Linked DNA regions of Homo sapiens: regions 2 and 3 are each linked to region 1. The links are contacts of gene promoters, found by promoter capture Hi-C in blood cells and fetal thymus (Javierre and others, 2016). All regions are on one chromosome and are shown on one strand. Each heading gives the region's core, a stretch centred on a gene start or on the middle of the fragment in contact. The rest is flanking DNA. Distances are from core to core; before and after follow the strand shown. Region 1 holds the start of ASF1A (anti-silencing function 1A histone chaperone). Region 2 holds the start of TSPYL1 (TSPY like 1). Region 3 holds the start of ZUP1 (zinc finger containing ubiquitin peptidase 1).

Region 1 (4,870 bases), core at 1,111-3,610:
GAACGTTTTGGCTTTATGAATGGCTGGTTTCATCTATGCAATGTAAAAGCCCTGTAACGACATCCTGAGTCATCTATCTTCTTTGTTCAGAGCTGACTCCTAAAATGGAAGGCAACACTTGAGAAATACCTGTAATTTGAAGAACTTCTGGTGGTATATCTGAAAAACAGTGTGGTATAAGTTGGAATGGACCGATCAATGGTTTTTCTTTTGTCTATTTTTATATGCAGTTGGCAATAAAAAAAAAATTACTGTTGGGTGTGAAAAATGGGCCTGGTAGCTGCAATGCTTATATTAATAGTAGTATCATAGGAGAGTAATCAAATGACTTCAGAGTAATAAGAAAAATACCCCTTAGTGTTATCAATGGCCTATTTGAAATTATTTTAATAAATGAATCATCTTTCAAAATTTGCCCTATATATGTATGTGCATTTATGCTCTATATAGGTTTAAAAAAAAAAAAAAAACGGGGGCACATGTTAAAGTAATAATTGTGATTACCGAAAGGAGATAGGGCAAGGCACTGAGTACAGAGAACTGTTAACTTTATATATGCCTGTACAACTTTCTAAAAGTTTATTACAATGAATATATATTGTTTTATAATTAAAATTAACCTTACATATGATATATACATTTTAGAGATTAAAAACTAGTTTTTAAAATGAAAAGTTTTACATGCCACGATTACCTAAATCATCTTCAATGCATTTTTTACATATACTTCTAGTTCAAAGTATGTCCCTCATCGATGAAGTTAAACTATTTCCCCTTCAAAACTGGCAAATGAAGCACTGAATTACTTTAGTAAAAGATAATTAAAGCAAAGATAATTGTCGTTTTAGCTTTCTAAATATTTATTACTAAAGATATTAAAAATACGTATTTTTAAGACCTTAAAATATATGTAGAAAAAATACCAAGAATTCTTGGACTGACATGAGGAGTTGACCTTAATTTCCTAGCCTACGTTTGTGTTTTATGTTTAGGGTGTGTTCTGTATTTGGATGTGGAGTTATTTTAGATTTCAACACGGTCTTGAAGAAAGTCTTCCTTCAGACTATTTATAAGGCAGAGATTAAGTCCTGGAAATTATTTAAGTATCTTATTTCTGCTTTTAGGTTAAATGTAACTTCCTACCTCAGCTCTATTTCTCTTCCTGAAATTAGCTTTTCGTCATTAGGGGAAAGGAGTCCACGTTGGTTGGGGAGCCTGCGCGCCAGCATCCCGGCGCATCCCGGGCGCCGGCCGAGGAGGACCGGCCGAACAGGACCCACGGCCCCCGGGGAGCGCCGGCGCCCAGCCCGCGGCGCGGAGGGGCCGAGCCTGCGCCCGCCTCCCCCGCTGGTTGGTCGAGGAAGCCAGAAATCAGCGCGAGGACAGCCTCGCTCTCCTCCCCGAAGCGGCCAGGCATGGCCAGCCCGGAGAGTGCGGCGACTCCACCGTGAGCTCTCGAGAGTGCCTGCCTGCCTTTCGCCGGGGGCAGGCGGGCGGCGGGGCAAGAGGAGGCGCCGTGCGCCGGGGTCGCTGGCCCAATTCTCGACTCGGGGTAAGATGGCTCCGCTCCGAACTCGCCGGCGCGACCACACGCACAGCCTCTCCCTTCCCAGCCTCCGTGCTCGGGCCCGGAGGGTCGCGGAGGCTGTTGGCGGCGCGGAGCCAGCCCGGCGCGACCTCAGGCGGCGCAGCGGGAGCGAGTGCGGGTCTCCGAGCTGCCCGCCCGCAGACAAAGCTGACAACATGGCTACCTCCGCTCCTCCGCTCAAACAAGTTCCTCGCAAGTTGAGCCCGGCAGGCGCCTGGGCTGCGGCGGAAAGCCGCGCGCGCCTCGGCGGCCGTCGTCCATCAACTTCAAGTTTCCCTCCGCAGAGCAGCCCGCGGCCGCCAGGCGCCGAACACAGCCGCCCAGCGCGAGGCCCGGCCCGGGAAACTTTCAACGTCTGCAGCCCGCAACTGACAGCCCGGGCGCACGGGCGCCGCACTCACCTTCAGACAGGTCCTCGATGCACTCGAAGGTGATCTCGAACTGGAACGGGTTGTAGAAAGGAGAAGGGTTATCCAGCACCACTACATTGTTCACCTGAACCTTTGCCATATTTTGAAAAAAACACAAACAATGGGAACTGGGGCTGGTTGCGGCACAATAAAGTCCAGCGCGCGGCCGCTCGGGAGAGCGCAGACCCCCGCTCCAGCGCCGGCCAGACGTCGTGCAGCGGCGACTTGAGAAACTTTTTTCCTCTTTTTATTTACACGGGAGCACTCCACAGTGTTTTGCAGCTTTCCTATTTCACTAAACTACAGCCCATTCTGCTCTGATAAGTAGCAGCGTTGCCCTCGATTGGCTGCACCCGAGTTCTGACCCTCCTCCTCCAGCGAGGGCCTCGGCAGCCAGCAAGATGGGCTCCCGCTCCCGGAATGGACTCGGAAACTTTAACTGCGGCTCCACCTGCTGGTGTGGATTAGGACAAAGGCGGAGAACAAAGTGAGTGGAATAAGGGCTGGGAGGCCCGCGCGGAGGCCGCCGGCGGCGGCGCGGAGAGGGGCGGAGGGGGCGTGGCCGCGGCGGGGAGGCGTGGCTGCGGCGGGAGGGCGCGATCCGGCCGACGCCCGCCCCTCCAGTTGGCTTCGTGTGGGTGTTTTGGCGTTTTTTTGTTTTTTTTTTTGTTTTTTTGGTTTTTTGATTTAACGCTCTTTTTACATCAGTGCAACAGCTTTGCCGGCCTTGCTGAATTTAGCAGATGAGAGTCGGTGTTTACACTGGGTTAGGTTCAGCTTTCTGCGTATCGGGTAGTATTTGGAGTAGAGAGAAAGATTGGCTGCAGGGGAAATAAATTGCATGTTATAGACCGATGTCAGCTCGAAAGGAGCAAAGCCATTTTGGAAATCTAGCTCTTGGCCAGTATCTACGTTTAGGCACGACAGCGCCGTTAAGCAACACAAAATGAAGGGCGAGGAATGATTTTCTACACACTGTGCTTGGAAAATTTAAATAGGTAACCTTTGGGCTTGCACCTGGGCGTCTTCTTCGGAGTCCAGATCTGGGAAGTCCTAGAATAAAAAAAAATCACAAGAGGTGTGATCAGTTATACTTCAGGTTACTGCCATTTGGAGAGCATAGCAGGAACATAAAAGGAGAAAATGGAAGTGTTAGGAGACCAACAGGGCAACAAACGTAATAGAGATGGGAAAAAGAACACAAAGACATAGCAAGACATTTGATCTTCAAAAAAATTTCTGACCTAAACCGTTAGTAAAGCAAATTCTGAGGAGCCCTTGCTTGCCTGTAACCAGTTGAGGTCTGAACTGAGGAAATGTTGATTCGTTTATGCTGCTTGGCTACCATTGCGGGGAAAGAGAAAGCTTTAACATATTTGTGAGCCTAAACCGTTTCTATTTAGTAAGTGGTATAAAGGTTTGTTTTATTATCTGCTAGCCATAAACCATCATTTTTTTCCTTAAATGTTGTGAATGAAACCACCAAACTTGGCCAAATTCAGAGAGAAAATTAATTCTTAAGTATGTGTTCTGGAAGAGTTTTCTCTTAGTATAGTGCCCAGAATTTTGATTTGTCATTCTTTGGTCATTGTTCATACTTAAGTAGGTGGCTTTTGATGAAACGTTTTCATCTGATGGTCTTTTGAAAGTTAATGTGAGACAGCTAATGTCAACCCCTCGTACATTTAGGAAAACCGGTTAGAGTGGGGAAGAGTTCCCTTTTTTTGTCAGTGGATTGAACAGTTAGATATAGGACCTACCAAAAAACACTTCTTCAAGCCAGTTGTTTGTGACATTAGAGTATTAAGAGTCAAACCATGGTGATAGACACAGATTTTTGTGGCTGATAAACAACATACTCTTCATTCTTATTAGTGCTGGTCCTAACACTAGCAGATAAAGTGGAAATTGCTGTATGCTGTAAGACACTCTGTATATGTAAGATAAAATGACCATTTGAAGATTAAAACTCCTGTGAGACTGGTGTATGCAGTTGTCTGATTATTACAGGTACTCTTAAGAGGAGAGTCTAGTCAGTCTCATGAAAACGACATTTTATGCTTGTTAAAATCACGTGCATTTTGCAGTCTGACCGTAAGTGTTACAATGAGACTAGTTGTAAAACTCACTTTTGGTGGATGTGCAGCATGAAGGACTGAGAAGATCTACCTGAATGCCACTAATTTGGCTTATTTTCTTTAAAATTTTTTGTTTAACACATCATATGCAACAGTATTTAAGAAGAAAAAACTCCCCAACATTTCACTGGAAGCTGCAAGAATTAGCTCCAGGCTTCTCCTGTCTTAACTCTTGTATTATTGCTTGTCAGAAATACTAAAGGGTCGTTGAGCACTTTGTTCAATAGTTTCCTCACCATTGATACTACCTTACTCCAGGAGAGACCGAAAGGATTCCTCAGATATGTCCTGGCATATTTCTAATTTAACTGGTATGCTGTAGGAAAAAAAGAATTGTGAAAGCCTCTCTCTGGTTTCAGAGGCAATCAGTAGGACTTGTTGCTGAACAACTTTGGTGACTCCCAAACATCTAATTGTACAACAGATGGGTCACTGTGAATGTCTTTATTAAGTACCCAAGGGGGTCCCACATAATGTTTGGAGGGCTGCATGGAATGTAATCCCCCAATCACTTCTCACTATGGGTTACTTGGGGGAAGGATGGCTGAGAGAGATTTTATCGGCTCTAAGATGAACAGAACAAAGCCTAAACTAGTGCTTAGGGCAGAAATACATGAAACTAGTTAGTTGTTGTTTTAGACTGAATTATGTCTCCCCCAAATTCGTATGTTGAAGCACTAATCCCTAGTACCTCAGAATGTGACTGTATTTGGAGATTAAGTTAAATGAGGTGA
Region 2 (4,870 bases), core at 1,028-3,527, 2.6 Mb after region 1:
TGCATCACAGGCTCCATCACTTGTAGAGAGAAATGCATTATATATTTCTGTAGACAGAAACGAAGTAAAGCCTGAAATGATTACCTTGACTTTTTCAGAAAGGAGAGAATTGGAAATACAGTGCTGGTAGTCCGAGGCTTTGATATGTAAACTCACCTAAATATGCTGGTCTTTTCAGAGTTCGTTTGTCATACAGTGTGACCACACAAACTTAAATTATTTGTAAAATAAAATTGTTTTCTCTGTGTTTTTCCTATCCTTTTAGAGCCTTTGAAACATATATAGAAATTCATTCTCCTGAGTAGGAAACTGTTACTATATAGAATAGAGCAGCCCTCTGGTTTGCCAGTGGCAGATAGGAAGGAGAGCAGAGTGACAACCCATATGCCCCTTACTTCTCTTCCGCAAGGAGCAAGTTGCAAGCAAGAGAAACTGTTTTCTGCTCATTTGCTCCTTTATTTAACATTTTAATAATCTATGGGATACTGTGTAAGGTAGTGTGCTAGGCACTCGATAAACAGAGGGAAACGAAACCATGATCATGTCCTCTTGCAGTTTACAGTCTCCTCAGATATCGTTTGTGGTATGTTTAGGCTTTAATTTTGTCTTTCTGTGCATTTGCCTAAGTATATTTCTGGTCTTGATATTGAAAGACAGATTCAAGCTGTAATACATCACAGCTGTTGGGCAGGAACTCACGGGAAGCCATGAGCAAGGTAGAAGGGGCTGCTATTAGAAACAACTTGAGGCACCCATAGATGCAACCAAACCTTAATCCAAGGTGTATTCATTTCATATTGCTTCTGTAACAAATTACCACAAATTTAATAGCTTAAAATGCACAAATTTATTTTCTTATAGTGCTGGAGTTTAGAGGTAATAACCTCAAGGTGTTGTCATTCCTTTGGAGGCTCTAGGATTGAATCTATTTCCTTACCTTTCAAGCTTCTAGAGGCTGCCTTTATTCCTACGATCCTGGCTCCTTCCTCCATCTTCAAAGCCAGCAACATAGCGATTTCCCTTTCCTCCCTCCCACACCTATTCTCCACCATTCCTTCCCTCTCTCTGTGCTTTCGTCCTCTTATCTTCTCTGACTGACCCTCCTGCCTCCTTCTTATAAGAAATTTGTAATTCCATAGGGCCCACCTGTATAATCCAGAATCATCTTCTCATCTCCAAATCTTTAACTTAATCATATCTGCGAAGTCCCTTTGGCCGCATAACTAAGACAGGTACATCTTTGAGGGCCATCAGGCTACTACCACACAAAGCAAATTAAGTAGAAAATAACGTTTGCCTCTTTTATACCTTGAGTCCACCAGCTGCATGTTGCCCTTTGCAAGTTTGTTTTCTACTTCAAGGCCATCTTAGTTGTCCATTTTAACTAGCCTTTCCTCACAAAATGGTGGTATGTGGCTCCCCCCACTGATATTTCTCTGAGGCCTTGTAGCTCTCTAAGACAGCACCAGTTTAACTCACAAGTCAACAAACTGGAACACTTCAACCAGAGACATTGACATCCCCCTCTAATGAACTCAGCTGATTGCTAAAGACAGATGCTTCGTTAGAGCCAAACATTCCTATCTTACATAACTAAATATGATAATAAATTAAGTTCTTGGGGCTGGAAATAGTTATAATTTCCTCTTTCTTGCAGTGAAAAGGCATGGAACATTTAGCAAACTGATCCTGGCTTAATTTCTACCGATACTATGCAGCACAAACTCTTATTTGATGCAGATTATAAATCGAAAATTAGCAATGAATACTATGCATCGCTTTAGTGGTAAGAGGCTGCTGAGTAGCTTTTTTTCCCCAGTAACCGTAGAGGCAAGAATTGATATTTTTATGTCACTTTTACTAAGAAGGGGGGAAACATTTTGCTATTAATCTTAAAGAGAAGTCTTTTGCTGCTAGTTACGTGGAGTAACAGGGAATAGATTTACCTTCCTGCCTCAAAAAAGTGAAGACCAGAAAAACATTTGTTTTCAGACACTGGAGAGCAGGCACTGTTACGGCTGTGATTTTACAACTGCTCCTACATGCTGGGAGCAGTCGCTAGATGCATCTCAAGGTGGGTCGTCCGCGCTTCCAGACTCAGCACAATCGACATTTATTTACGTAGGTAAAATTACTGTTGCTATGGGTAAATTCACAGAAATAAAGCCCAGAGAATCCGGTTGGCTGGCAGGGAGCGGCGGAACCAATCCCGGGCTCAGCAAGTTCTCGCGATACCGTGAGATCTCCAGTCCTGACGACACCGCCGCTGAAATGTTAGTGAGACTGTAGGGTGGGCGGTGCGAGCGGCGGTTAGCTCCCAGTTCGGCCTCTGAGGAAAACGGGCGTTCGCCTGCGGTTGGTCCGACTGTTAGCAACATGAGCGGCCTGGATGGGGTCAAGAGGACCACTCCCCTCCAAACCCACAGCATCATTATTTCTGACCAAGTCCCGAGCGACCAGGACGCACACCAGTACCTGAGGCTCCGCGACCAAAGCGAGGCGACACAGGTGATGGCGGAGCCGGGTGAGGGAGGCTCGGAGACCGTCGCGCTCCCGCCTCCACCGCCTTCAGAGGAGGGGGGCGTACCCCAGGATGCCGCGGGCCGTGGCGGTACTCCCCAGATCCGAGTTGTTGGGGGTCGCGGTCATGTGGCGATCAAAGCCGGGCAGGAAGAGGGCCAGCCTCCCGCCGAAGGCCTGGCAGCCGCTTCTGTGGTGATGGCAGCCGACCGCAGCCTGAAAAAGGGCGTTCAGGGTGGAGAGAAGGCCCTAGAAATCTGTGGCGCCCAGAGATCCGCGTCTGAGCTGACGGCGGGGGCGGAGGCTGAGGCGGAGGAGGTGAAGACAGGAAAGTGCGCCACCGTCTCAGCAGCCGTGGCTGAGAGGGAGAGCGCTGAGGTGGTGAAGGAAGGCCTGGCGGAGAAGGAGGTAATGGAGGAGCAGATGGAGGTAGAGGAGCAGCCGCCAGAAGGTGAAGAAATAGAAGTGGCGGAGGAGGATAGATTGGAGGAGGAGGCGAGGGAGGAAGAAGGGCCCTGGCCTTTGCATGAGGCTCTCCGCATGGACCCTCTGGAGGCCATCCAGCTGGAACTGGACACTGTGAATGCTCAGGCCGACAGGGCCTTCCAACAGCTGGAGCACAAGTTTGGGCGGATGCGTCGACACTACCTGGAGCGGAGGAACTACATCATTCAGAATATCCCGGGCTTCTGGATGACTGCTTTTCGAAACCACCCCCAGTTGTCCGCCATGATTAGGGGCCAAGATGCAGAGATGTTAAGGTACATAACCAATTTAGAGGTGAAGGAACTCAGACACCCTAGAACCGGTTGCAAGTTCAAGTTCTTCTTTAGAAGAAACCCCTACTTCAGAAACAAGCTGATTGTCAAGGAATATGAGGTAAGATCCTCCGGCCGAGTGGTGTCTCTTTCTACTCCAATTATATGGCGCAGGGGGCATGAACCCCAGTCCTTCATTCGCAGAAACCAAGACCTCATCTGCAGCTTCTTCACTTGGTTTTCAGACCACAGCCTTCCAGAGTCCGACAAAATTGCTGAGATTATTAAAGAGGATCTGTGGCCAAATCCACTGCAATACTACCTGTTGCGTGAAGGAGTCCGTAGAGCCCGACGTCGCCCGCTAAGGGAGCCTGTAGAGATCCCCAGGCCCTTTGGGTTCCAGTCTGGTTAACATTTGCCCTTGGGAATACTCCTGCACAAGGTCTCCTACCACCTTCTGCTGGACCTGTGCTTGGGCATCAGCAATGAGTATGCCTTCTATTGTGCTTTGTTTTTGCTGACTTTTCTGCACCCTGTTTCCTTTGGATATTCAGTTCTCTCAACCTCAAGATTGAGACGGTGGTGGGTATGCTTCTCCACTTCCATATGACCTTCATGCTGTTCTGGAATATCACATGCTACGAGGTCATCCTTCACACTACTTGTAAGCCAAGCAAATGATACTGTAGATTGTACTGCCTTTATCTGCACTGCTTGGACCCTGTTTATTCCCAGGGCCTCTGAACTGGTTGCTGTCACTTGGATTTCTAGCTTTGGGAGCCTGTTCCACCTACTCAGCTCTGCATTGAGCAGTATGGGCACATGCCCTGTGGACAGTTACTGGACGTTAATGAACTCAGAGGAGAAAAGCAGTGAGCCACTTGTTCTGTGTGATTTATGGTACTTCATTGCTCTTCCTTCACCTCTAGTCACTTTCTATTGCTACCTGCCCTACATTGGCTCCTGCCAAGGTCCCTCTCTCTCCCTGTTTTCCTTTTTTTTTTTTTTTTTTTTTTTTTTGAGACGGAGGACGGAGTCTTGCTCTGTCGCCCAGGTTGGAGTGCAGTGGCGCGATCTCGGCTCACTGCAACCTCCACCTCCCGGGTTCAAGCGATTCTCCTGCCTCAGCCTCCCGAGTAGCTGGGACTACAGGCGCGCGCCGCCACGCCCGGCTAATTTTTATATTTTTAGTAGAGACGGGGTTTCACCATGCTGGCCAGGCTGGTCTCGAACCCCGATCTCGTGATCCGCCCTCCTTAGCCTCCCAATCCTCTCTTAAAAAAGTGATAGCTCAGAAACATTTGTAAAAGCAAGGTTTTTATTTCATTTTGGCTCTGTCATTTTCAGAGGCAAAGAAGTTGGCCTGTAAAATAGAGTGCTAGAGCTCTTACGCCCCTCCCCTTCTTCCCAACTTCCTACTTCCTAGCCCTTTTATCAACTCCTAGAATAGTTAAAGAGAGACACATCTAGATGGGATGAAAGGTGCCCTAAGCAGGAGAAACTGAACAAAAGGCTAGAGGCATGGGCCAGGTAAAAATTGGGCCTAGAGTGAAGACTGTGCTGTCGTTAAGAGCTTTCGAGGAAGGAGTACT
Region 3 (4,870 bases), core at 1,085-3,584, 2.2 Mb after region 1:
TATCATTTTAATAGATTTTGAGAGGCAGAGAAATATAAATTTACATGTTTAATCTTCCATGTTTGTCCACAAATTTCCAGAACGATTTTTTTTTTTGAGACAGGTTCTCATTCTGTCGCCCAGATTGGAGTGCAATGGTGCCATTATGGCTCACTGCAGCCTCAACCTCCTGGGGCTCAGGTGATCCTCCCACCTCAGTCTCCCGAGTAGCTAGAATTACAGGCCACATCACCACGCCCAGCTAATTTTTGTATTTTTTTGGTTGAGACGGGTTTCTCCATGTTGCCCAGGCTGGTCTGGAATTCCTGGGCTCATGCGATCTGCCCGCCTCTGCCTCCCAAAGTGTTGGGATTACAGGCGTGAGCCACCGCGCCTAGCCAATTTTTAAAAACATACTATTTATCATCAGATAACATCACCCTCCTATTTAAATACCTCACTAGTTTTCTACCAGGTCCTACATGATTTGGCCCCTGTCTACAACCCTAACCTCATCTTGTAATCATTTTTCTCCTTACCACATTATGCTCTGGTCAAAAAGTGTTCTTTTTGCTCCAGCCTTAGGCCTTCGTTCTTGTTATTTTATCTGTCTGAAATGCTATTTCCCCTGTTGGTGTAAGGTTTGTTCATCAGCACACTCAACCCTTCATCAAGACCTTTTCTAAACATTCGTATCTCTATAATCCAGTTTTCTTTTCTTTCTTTCTTTCTTTTTTTTTTTTTTTTTTTGAGACTCAGTCTCAAAAATCTATTGCTCTGTCACTCAGGCTGGAGTGTAGTGGCACGATCTCAGCTCGCTGCAACCTACGCCTCCCGGGTTCAAGCAATTCTCCTGCCTCAGCCTCCCGAGTAGCTGGGATTACAGGCACCTGCCACCACGCCCAGCTAATTTTTGTATTTCTAGTAGAGACGGGCTTTCACCATGTTGGCCAGGCTGGTCTTGAACTCCTGACCTCAAATGATCTGCCCGCCTCGGCCTCCCAAAGTGCTGGGATTACATATGTGAGCCACTGAGCCTGGCCAATCCAGTTTTATTTTCTTCATAGCACTTATCATGATCAGTTAATTTACTTTTTATTTCCTCTACCTCACCAGCATGTAAGCCTCAAAAATCCTGAATTTTGTGTATTTTGATTACTGCTGCAGCTCCTGTTGCAAGCAAAACGCCTTTCTAATAGACACTCTTTAAATATTTGTTGAATGAAATAAAGCCTGAATGACAAGATATTTGTGATTTTGGGCTAACATGGTGGCTCACACTTTGGGAGGCCGAGATGGGAGGATCATTTGAGGCCAGGAGTTCGAGGCTGCGGTGAGCTATTTTAGCCACTGTGCTCTGGCCTGGGTGACAGAAAGAGTCCTCCTCTCTAAAAATACATACATACGGCCGGGCACGGTGGCTCACGCTTGTAATCCCAGCACTTTGGGAGGCCGAGGGGGGCGGATCACGAGGTCAGGAGATCGAGACCATCCGGGATAACACGGTGAAACCCCATCTCTACTAAAAATACAAAAAATTAGTCAGACGTGGTGGCGGGCGCCTGTAGTCCCAGCTACTTGGGAGGCTGAGGCAGGAGAATGGCGTGAACCCGGGAGGCGGAGCTTGCAGTGAGCAGAGATGGCACCACTGCACTCCAGCCTGGGCGACAGAGCAAGACTCCGTCTCAAAAAATATATATATATACATACATACATACATACAAACCAAGATATTTGTTATCTTGTAACCTTGAGGAAAGAACCTGGTATCCTTTACCTTCGGTGCATAGCTGGGAGCTTGATACCTAGCAGCATTATAAACCCTTTATTGATACTAAAATAGAGTGCTACTCAGCAGGCCCTAGTGTAGACTGCTATTTGCCCCAGGACCTGCCCTGTGAACTCATTCAGATTAAGTATGAATGACCTCAGAGCCCGGTTTTCTCTCCTAGCAATTGAGTGGCAGGAAACTCGATGGGAGAAGGAAAAACTCGGAAATGGGAGGAATGCAAAAATGACTACATCTCTCAGGAGATCGAGACCATCCTGGCTAACACGGTGAAACCCCGTCTCTACTAAAAATACAAAAAATTAGCCAGGCATGGTGGCGGGCGCCTGTAGTCCCAGCTACTCGGGAGGCTGAGGCAGGAGAATGGCGTGAACCCGGGAGGCGGAGCTTGCAGTGAGCCGAGATCGCGCACTGCCCTCCAGCCTGGGCAGCAGAGCGAGACTCCGTCTCAAAAAAAAAAAAAAAAAAAAAAGACTACATCTCCCAGAATGCACTGCATAGAGACCGGCGTGGAGCGGCGCATTCTGGGATTACTTCTTTTCCGTGGGAGTAAGGAAGTGCTTTTGAATGAGGTACTGAGGGCCAAGGTGTTGGAAGTTCCTAATTCTTTCCTCGGTTAACTGTGAAACTCTGCGTATTGGGAAGGCCTGGCCTCAGTCATCAGGCCAGGAGAGGTACTGGACGCCGCGCACGCACTCGTCTGCCAGCGAGGCCCAAAGGGGAAGCCTAGCGGAGCTCAGTGTGGCAGCTGCTGGCCTCTGGGCCGGTAAGAATTGATGGTCCCCTCCCTTATTCCCCAGGCCCAAAGCTTTGACCCAGTTAGTGCCTGCTAGTTTCGTGTGCCTGGCTTGTGCCTTTGGCGCGGAACGTTTGGGAGACTCGGCCTTGCGGTCTTCTGACCTCACCCACCACGTACCTAGCTTGGCACTGGGTCCTTCATGCCTCTCACTCGCTTCCTCTGAGGCACCTGGGTACTCTCTTGTCTCTTACCCGCTTAATCTGAGTCCATGTCCAAGTTCATCATTCTGTGTCTGACCGTGTCCCAGCCACCGGAAGAGAAGAAACTCCGGGTGTGACATTAATCCCACTGGGGGCTCGGGAGAACTGCCTTCTAAAATCAGAGACTGTATCCATTTGTCTGGAGAGAAATGAAAAAAATAAGGACAATGTAGGGAGGTATTTTAAAGGTAAATTTATTTAAATGAAGTGATAGTGTCATTACTTTTCCTGTTTGATTTTAAATAGTCTTTAGCTGAACGATGACCTGTAGTAGGAAGGTGGTGGCGAAGTGATTGCTTTTTTTAAAATTATTTTTTTAACACTTTTATGTCAGTAGTCAGTACTTTATTTGTCCATAAAATCCAAAAATAACTACCTTTGGATTTTACAGTAGTCTTTGACTGAACCTCAGAGAGATGAGATTCCTTACCCAAAATGATGAATCTGAAATTATTACCCAGTTCTCTTGACTCTGGAATAAGTGCTTTTTTCTACTATACCACTTCTGCTTTTATTCTTGGGGCTGAGAGTACAGGCTGTGGAGCACGACGGGGTTGGCATTTTGGCTTCCACCTTTTTCTGCTTGTGGTGACCTGTCTGAGCCAGAATTTCTTTATGTGTAGAGCGATAATAATAGTACTTAAATTACAATAATAGCACTTAAATAGCACTTGATACATGTAAGACTCTAAGTTTACAGTGTTAAACTCTACTTGTAAGATGTGTTTATTTACCTCCTCAATATAATCAGCTTCAGTATTCAGTATTTAGATATATCAGTTGATAAATAGGTTTCTTCTCTTCATTTTTTTCTTACCTGATTTATCTTACCTGGACAATTTTTTAAACGTTATTTTTTCTCCACCTTGGGCCAGAGACATTTTTTGAAATATTTTATTTTTAAAATTACTTGTATTCATTATTATTGCCTTTTTTTAAAAAAAAATAAATGAAATTTTGGTTGATATTTATAAATAAGTTTTTGTATTTGAGGAACAGTAAGTACATTGAAAACTTCTTCATCAAAATAATCCAGCGTTAAAGACCAAGTAATTGTCTCAAATCATTTTATGAAACACATTTTTTCTTCAAATCTTTGAAACCTAATGTTATGTTCTTTTCTAGCTACTTGTCAATACCATGCTTTCCTGTAATATTTGTGGTGAAACAGTAACCTCAGAACCAGACATGAAAGCTCACCTAATTGTTCACATGGAAAGTGAAATTATATGTCCATTTTGCAAGTTGTCAGGTGTGAATTATGATGAAATGTGTTTTCATATCGAAACAGCTCATTTTGAGCAGAATACACTTGAAAGAAACTTTGAGAGGATAAATACAGTACAATATGGAACTTCAGATAACAAGAAAGACAACACCCTACAGTGTGGAATGGAAGTTAATTCAAGTATTCTTTCAGGTTGTGCATCTAATCATCCAAAAAATTCAGCTCAAAACCTGACTAAAGATAGTACTTTAAAACATGAAGGCTTCTATTCAGAGAACTTAACTGAATCTAGAAAATTCCTGAAAAGTAGGGAAAAACAGTCCAGCCTGACCGAAATAAAAGGATCTGTTTATGAAACAACATACAGTCCTCCTGAATGTCCATTCTGTGGAAAAATAGAGGAGCACAGTGAAGATATGGAAACTCATGTGAAAACAAAGCATGCCAATCTTTTAGACATTCCATTGGAAGGTAAAGTTTTCATTTCATTATAAATTATAAGTTTACAGCCTCAATTTAATATGTGGTATTTTAAAAGTTGGTTTGTAAGTCAGCTTACTACAGATGTGTTTTGAAATCCATTTTATGTCTATAACATTTTTCATTTGCTGTTACTGAAATATAAAAGTACATTATGGAAAAGAATTTTAATGCAGATATAAAATGTTTCAGCTACATTGAGAGTAGTTTTGGAACTTTCTGTCTAGTTTCCAGAGGGTATTCTTTTTATTGTCACTAACCCAGTAGCATCTGGACTGTCCTGGACTCTCTGACTTTGCATTGAGTTCTATTTTGACTCCATTATTCTGTTATGATTGGAGAACAAACTCTCTGTGATATCAGTTCTTTTAAATTTGTTGAGGCCTGTTTTATGG

The links. The method cuts DNA at HindIII sites, captures the fragments that hold promoters and counts their contacts. A CHiCAGO score of 5 or more calls a contact.
Region 2: a contact is called between the fragment with the promoter of TSPYL1 here and the fragment with the promoter of ASF1A in region 1, in 2 of 17 cell types (total CD8 T cells and fetal thymus). The highest score is 6.4, in total CD8 T cells.
Region 3: a contact is called between the fragment with the promoter of ZUP1 here and the fragment with the promoter of ASF1A in region 1, in 4 of 17 cell types (naive CD8 T cells, activated CD4 T cells, monocytes and 1 more). The highest score is 10.1, in naive CD8 T cells.

Annotation. Positions count from the first base shown.
Region 1 is chr6:118,891,642-118,896,511 of GRCh38, reverse strand. It overlaps ASF1A (anti-silencing function 1A histone chaperone), which reads right to left and starts at 2,360. Exons shown (of 4, transcript NM_014034.3): 1 at 1,990-2,360. The coding sequence starts at 2,098. The region is part of intron 8 of MCM9 (minichromosome maintenance 9 homologous recombination repair factor); the gene reads left to right. RefSeq lists silencers at 1,166-1,695, 2,486-2,625 and an enhancer at 2,076-2,165. The HindIII fragment of the contact is 9,487 bases long and covers 1-3,365 here.
Region 2 is chr6:116,277,337-116,282,206 of GRCh38, reverse strand. TSPYL1 (TSPY like 1) reads left to right here and starts at 2,277. Exons shown (of 1, transcript NM_003309.4): 1 at 2,277-4,870. The coding sequence starts at 2,377. The coding sequence ends at 3,690. It also overlaps a transcript of DSE not described here. RefSeq lists enhancers at 2,284-2,343, 2,574-2,843, 2,864-2,913. The HindIII fragment of the contact is 6,415 bases long and covers 948-4,870 here.
Region 3 is chr6:116,666,230-116,671,099 of GRCh38, reverse strand. It overlaps ZUP1 (zinc finger containing ubiquitin peptidase 1), which reads left to right and starts at 2,334. Exons shown (of 10, transcript NM_145062.3): 1 at 2,334-2,534; 2 at 3,893-4,466. The coding sequence starts at 3,908. RefSeq lists an enhancer at 2,310-2,499 and a silencer at 3,261-3,410. The HindIII fragment of the contact is 3,066 bases long and covers 1-2,578 here.